Linked DNA regions of Homo sapiens: region 1 is linked to region 2. Evidence: promoter capture Hi-C in human tissues and cell types (Jung and others, 2019). All regions are on one chromosome and are shown on one strand. The core of a region is centred on a gene start or on the middle of the fragment in contact, and the rest is flanking DNA. Distances in the headings are between cores, read along the strand shown.

Region 1 (3,356 bases), core at 171-2,670, 68 kb before region 2:
TTCCATTTCCTCTGGGCAGCTGCTGTCCTCCAAGACTCCAGCTGGGGAAGAGAACAGCCCCATCTTCTTTCTCCACCTCTCAGCCGTGAGCTGGCTGTTCACAAATCACTCACTCTTCATTCTCACAGCAACCCTCACCAAAGCCCCGTGTCACAGATGAGGAAACTGAGGCTCCACAGCAGGAACCCGCTTTCCCAAGGCCCCATCTGTCTCCCGGTGAGCTCCTTCCCAGTGACATAGCACATGCTCTGTCTGTGCAAGTCCTGAAGCCACCACCTGTTTTACCTGACTGGAGGCTATCCTGCAGCAGGACACAGAGGGCTGGGCTGGGCTGCCTGATTCCGTTTCTGTGCTTCTGTCTCCTCTTTGCCCAGTGCTGCCAGCCAACATCCAGCTGCCCAGGGAAACTGCAGCCCCAGCAAGATGGGCCACCCTGGGCCACCCCCTGAACTTCCAGAGCCATCGGCTCTGCCCATCTGTGCCCATCTGTCTCACCTGTAACCCTAATGGCAGCCTCTGTTCAGGACCACCAGCAGGAGCCAGGCCTCCCCACACCTCACAGTGCCACCTCTCCAAACCCATCCCTGCCATCTGGAGCCCAGGGGACAGTCGGAAGCCTGCTGAGGGAGGAGGTCAGGAGATGGAGGCTAAAGGGGAGAGCACCAGAGTGAGGAGGGGCTCCAGAAGCTAGGCTGAGGGCAGACCCTGCTGCCCCCCAAAAAGTCACCATCCAGTGGGGTCATTATTTTTCAATCGGGGAGGCTTTGTACATGTATTTCTTAAAAATGAGGAGGGAAGGACGTCTGCAGGAGCGTTTCCTGTGTTGGAGTCACCAGCAGCTCACGCCTCATTGCTCCCGTCTCCTCCAGCTGTAATTAAGCCAGAGACACCAGGCACTGCTGCCTGCCCAGCTCCAGTCCCAGCACAATAATCAGCCCTCAGTTAAATGAGGAGGATAAATACAGGCAGACCGGGACTCCAAGGACAACAGCCCCCGGTTACCGTCCTCCACAGACCCGGACCACCACCCAGCTGCCTTGGTCGCTGAGCAGTCAGAGGATGGACAGAACATGCAGGGCCTCCTTGGTGGGAAGCCACGGACAGGGGGGGCCCCCCACGCAGGGCCTCAGTTTTCTCATCTGTAATATGGGGGAGCAGACAAGTCCCCCACGTTACCCTCTGCAGGCCTCGCTGTGGTCCTCTCCACTTTAGCCGTCACCTCTTGGCCTCCTGAGTCAGACCTGCAGAGGCAGGCCCGGGAATCTGCACTTCCCGAGATGCCCCAGGGAGCCCCTCCGTGGAACCACGTGTGCCAACGCCTGGGAGGAGGGCAGGTGGCCAGAGGATCCTGGGGTCCCTCTCCCAGCCCAACCCCACCCCCAGGCCCTGTGGCTGCTCCCCCTCTGCAAAGGCACCAGGAGGGAGGTCAGGCCCTGGCGGAGCCAGCCACGCAGGTCAGTGCCCCGGGCAAGTGGGTGCTGCGGTGGCCTCGGGCCACAAGGGGGCAGAGGCGGCCAGCGAGGCCGCAACCTTCGCTCAGGTGAGCCGGGTCCGCTGCGCTGCGCTGCGCGCCGGGGTCCTGCACCCACGCTCTTCGCCGCAGAGGAGACCCCGGGGGGCAGGGTCGGGCGGGGGCCTCTCCGTGTGGCCTGGGTGGTCCTCGGGTCCTCAGCCCCTGCCCCCGCCTCTTCTGGAAAGCTCCTCACAACGCTGCCCGGCCCTGCTGCCTCCCAGCCCCGACACAGGAATCCCATCTCACTCCAGCGCCCGCCCTCCCCTTCCACGGTGCAGGCGGCTTCATCCCTGCTGAGTCTAATTCCACCCTCATTCGCCCCATTTCACAGAAGGAGTAAACTGAGGCCGAGAGAGGGCAGGGGCTGGAGCCAAGGCCCTCCCTTCTGGAGCAGCAATCCTAGAATTGGGAAACTTTGCCTTTTGTTATGGTAAGAAATGCTGTTGAGAATTTCTTAATTCCCCTTTGGAAAAGACAGGTTGTGCTGTGTGCAGAAATCGTTATTCAAAAATTACAGACTCTAGTTGTTTCTATGGAAACATTTTTTCACCTTATGCAAATGAAGCAAGAGGCATGAAAACAACGCCTTCCCTTTCTGCCCCCCTCCACCAACTTTCTTTTTGGAACCTTGAAAAGCTGCTGCTGAAAGTTTCGTCCTCTGTAGGGGTGCTGAAGGCGGCCTCTGACACTGGGGAGAGTTTGCTTCATTAACTCGGGGACCTTTGTGACCCTGGGCCGAGCCGAGACTCAGGGTTCCCCGGCCAATTACTCTGAGGCCCAGCTCCATTTACTCCCACTCTGATCATTACAGAGTGGTGGGTGGCAAATGTCACTCCAGAGTGTCTCCCCTGCCCCCTTGAAGGGGAACCCCTGCTTCCCACCACGATTCCTTCAGGAAGCCCCACAGCAGGAGGGAAACCCCCCACCGCTCAGAGCACCCATCGTTTACCCAGCCTGGACTGGCATTCTTTTGAGGAGCCAACCTCTGCACCCACTCCTGCACTCATCTCTGCCTCCACGGGGGCTCCCAGAGCCAAGGGACAGGAATGTTGGGCATATCTTTCCTCTGGTTTTGATTCAAGCCCCCACATTGGTGCCTTCCAACTATGTGGCCTTGGACAAGTCTCTGCCTCTCTGAGCCTCGTTTTCTCCGCTGTCGCCTCCACCCTGCTTAGTTGGGGGTGATAGCACCCACCTTGCAAGGTTGCAGGGAGGGTGACATGGAACGACCATCTTCGCTACTTAGCGCACAGTAGGGATTAAATGTGTAGGAATTCCCCAAGTTGCTCCTAGAGGAGCGGGGAGCCAGGGTGAGAAGAGGCTCGCTGGTGTGTGTGCTGCGTGGGATGTGGCCGCCCCCGGGGAAATTTGCTCGAAGCCACCCGAGAACTCCATCCCCAGCTGTTTGTGGCCAGGGCGGCCACCAGGAGGCAGTGTCTCCCAGCAGCCAGAGCGCCAAATTTGTAGCCCAGAGACCTGGGTTCAAGCTCCGACTCAGAGGTGTCTTCACTGGGTGATCTTGGAGACTATTTCCCCTCCCCAAGCCTCCATTTTCTCATCCACAGGGAGCCACATCATCTGCACGCCCCACAGGCTGCGTGGGGACCACAGCTAAAGGCTGTGGGAAGTGGGCAGATGTACCCTGACTGACATAAAATTGGTACCAAGAGTGGTTCCAGGTGATGGATGGGATGTGGGGATTGGTTTGGTCATGCCTTTGGGCTTGAACACAAAGCTGAGCTCCTTGCCAATGGGAAACGGGATGTTAGTGACCCCCATATGCAGCAGCATTGCCATTAATCAACTATCATCTGCCATTGATTGCGATGAAGTGGCTCCTAAG
Region 2 (3,251 bases), core at 149-2,648:
CCTCTGTCCATTGGTTACCCAATCATGTCCCTGGGACCTGAGAGGGAGCAGAGACAGGACTTTGCTTGACACGAAGTGGCTCCAGTCAGCTGCTGGTTCTTTTGCTTGTCTCCTTTTTTTCTGGGTTTCCCCTCTTGCCTTGCTATCAGTGCCTTTTCTCAGCACTGACACTGCCTGAATGTAGCAACCTACTCCCCAGATTAAATGAGAGAGCGTAGAAACTGCAAAGCATACAACATACAGCATATAAGGATGGTGGTGATGGCAGCTCAACAGTGGGAACTCAGTGTCCCCAAACTGTACACTTTAAAAGTGGTTAAAATGGTAAATTTTATGTTTTCCATGTTTTCCACAATTAAAAAACAAAAATATACAAGGTACTCATTCGCAGCATCTTCTAATCTGCCATGTACTTGGAAATGATATAAGCATGTGTGAACCATGAGCCCATAGGTCCCGAGGGAGGATATGAGCGAAGCACACGGGCTTTGCCAGCTCTGTTTCCACCACGCAGGACCCTCCCTGGCTGCCAGTGCTCCTCCCCGGGTTCCCACGCTGGCTGCTGCTGGGCTGGCTGGGATGGAAGACCCTCATGTAGCTGGCACCCTCAGGGCTGCCCCTTGCCCGCTCTGGGAGGAGAGAGGAGGGTTCACGCTGCACCTTTACCAGGGTAGGACTGGCCAGCCTGGGCTCTACCGGGCAGGTCGGTGGGATGCTTCAGACTGGAGGGATAGGCAGGGGGCAACACTGGTCCTCCTGAAGCCACCTTCCCTTCCTGAGAGCTCCTTGGGGAGAAGGCAAGCCCTGGAAGCCACCGACTGGGGGCTCGGGCAGAGCAAGGGCAGGGTAAGGGGCAGCTTGGCCAGGAGGCACCCTTGGGAGCCAGGGTTTCCTCATCTGTAAAATGTGACTCTGCGAGGGCAGGAGCTTGGTTTCACTCGCTACTGTACCCCCTGGGGCCTACAGCAGGGCTGGTTGGTACACACTAGGTGTCTAATAAATGTTGAGGGATTGAATGGATGGACCGATGAAAAGGTTGGGCAGGTCATTACTGACAGCCTCTGGGTTTCAAGGGCCCATTCACTCTGTCACTCACCTTCGCGCCCGTGCATTAGTTCTCTCATTTATTCATTCCCCCCGCCCCCCCAGCCCCGCATGCTCTACCGCACTCATTCATTCACGCGCTCAGCCATTCAAGCTGGCGCGGGTTCATTCATTCCCTGCCCCTCTGCCATTCCTCGCCTGGCCCCCGCGCACGCCGCACCCCCGCGCCCCTGCCCGGCCCTGCGCCCACCACTTGCGCCCCGGCCGGGCGCTGCCGGGAGGACGCGCGGGCTCAGCCGCGGCTGCGCGGGGCCGGGGCTGGCGGGGAGCCGGGCTGGGGGCGGGGGGCGGGCGCTCCCTGCGGGAAGCCGGGCGGGGTGGGGGAGCCCCGGCCGCGCCGGCTCCCGGCGCGCTCGGCCTCGGAGGGGAGGGGGCGGCGGTAGCGGCGGCGGCGGTGAGCGGCGCGGCTGCCCTGGGGCCATGTGGACTGGCGGTCGCCGGCCGGGCCGGCTGCGCCGGGCGGTGAGTACCTGCGAGCCGGGAGGGCAGGGCGCGGGCGCGGGCGCGGAGGCGGGGCGGGCGCCACCCACGCCTGGGGCGGTCCCTGCTCAGCGCGGGAGGTGGCCGGCCCCCCGCCCCGCTCCCCTCCGCGCTGCGCCCCCGCCGTGGAGGCTTCACTGGCCCGGGAGGAGCCGGGCCGGGTCTCCTGGGAACTGGGCACTCTCGGGTGGGGCGGGGATGCCCAGCCTCCGCGCGCCGCCGGGAGCGCCCGGGTCCTATCGCGGGGTCCTTGCGCCCTGACACGCGCGCCCCTGCGGCGGAAGGAAAGGAGGGACGGGTGACCAAGGGCGCGGCCGGAGGACTGGGGACCCGCCGCTGTCCCGGGCGGGTGGCGAGGGTGCGGGCAGGCCTGGACCCGCCTGCGTCTGGGGGCAGGGCCAGCCCCTGCTTGGGAGGCCGGAGAAAGGCCCGGGAGCCGGAAGGAGGCTGGACCCGGGGCCGCCTCATTGAGCGTTTGCAGCGCGTGGGCGCGCACGAACCTCGGACACCACCATCCCATTCAGTACCTCGCGGCAGGTACTATCCTCCTGCCCCTTTACAGGCGAGGAAACTGAGGCTCAGGGAGGCCAGGGCCTCGCCCAGAGCGGCTCAGCCGGCGCGCTCACCCTCCCTGAGCCCCAGCACGTTGGATGGGAATTTCTGCCCCAGCGTTTCCGCTTCCTGCTTGGTTTAGAGGTGTTTCCTTCCTCGTCTGTGCCCCACCCCATCCCCAATGTGGTTTCCTCAGGGCAGGAACAGCGTGGGCGACGCGCTGGAGTCTCCTGAGCCGGCAGAATGGGAGCAGAGTGGGCACCCGGGAGCGGGGCCGGATGGATAGGGAGCACTGCACGTGCAAAGTCCGCATGGCCAAGGTCGGCCGCCAGTGCAGACTGGGGGTCCAGGCCCTGGGGGTATGGGTGGGGCGGGGTCTCCACAGCCAGGCTCCGTCGGAGGCCCCAGTGCTCTGGCTCTCTGGAGGCCATGGACAGGTTCTTTTCCTTCTCTGGACCCTAGTTCCTCTGCCTGCCAAGAGCAGCAGAGACCCCCACTACTCCCAGGGCCAGGCTCCCACGAGGACTGTGGGCAGAAGCCCCTAACAAACTGCGGTGTGCAGCCCTGCCAGGCTGGCCTTGGTCTTGCCAGCAGGGGCAACTGGCCGTTGGGGGTGGCTCTGCCTGGCATCTGTGACACGCAGGGCGGGGAGACGGCAGAGAGGGCCCCAGCAGCATCCTGCAAACCCTTAATTTTCCCGACTCTCACTATAATCAGGGCAGCTTGGAAAAGCAAGCACTGTGGCAGATGCGGCTCTGCCCGGGCTCAGCACACGGGCTCTGGGCGATGGGCGGCTGCGCTGCCGCCAAGGGCCCTCCCCAGCTTTTGTCTCATATTTATAGATTCCAAGGCTCCGCGTTCCGTTTGTCGTCAAAACCTGGAGCTGTTCGCACCTGGGAGCTGAGTGGGGAGGGGAGGGCTGCCTAGAACCTCAGCCTGGAGGATGAGTTTTCCATGCGCTGGGGTGGAGTAGGGGGACACCTGTCAGAGCCCAGGCCTGGAGAGAGGAAATGAGCCCTAAGCAATCTGGAAGATCTTCCATCCACTCTCCCAAGACTTGGGCGCAGGGTCTGGCCCACATAGCTGCCATTTATGGAACGCCTGCTATGTACTGG

Evidence for each region. Contacts are between HindIII fragments. The study calls those that stand out against the background at their distance.
Region 1: a fragment that was not itself captured here is called in contact with the fragment with the promoter of BEGAIN in region 2 in 3 of the 25 tissues and cell types used here (mesendoderm cells, small bowel and spleen).

The regions. Positions count from the first base shown.
Region 1 is chr14:100,653,110-100,656,465 of GRCh38, reverse strand. No RefSeq gene overlaps it. Among named protein-coding and RNA genes, the nearest start is that of LINC00523, 2.5 kb to the left of the region's middle. The HindIII fragment of the contact is 5,505 bases long and covers 1-3,356 here.
Region 2 is chr14:100,585,564-100,588,814 of GRCh38, reverse strand. It overlaps BEGAIN (brain enriched guanylate kinase associated), which reads left to right and starts at 1,398. Exons shown (of 7, transcript NM_001385089.1): 1 at 1,398-1,566. The coding sequence starts at 1,525. The HindIII fragment of the contact is 7,942 bases long and covers 1-3,251 here.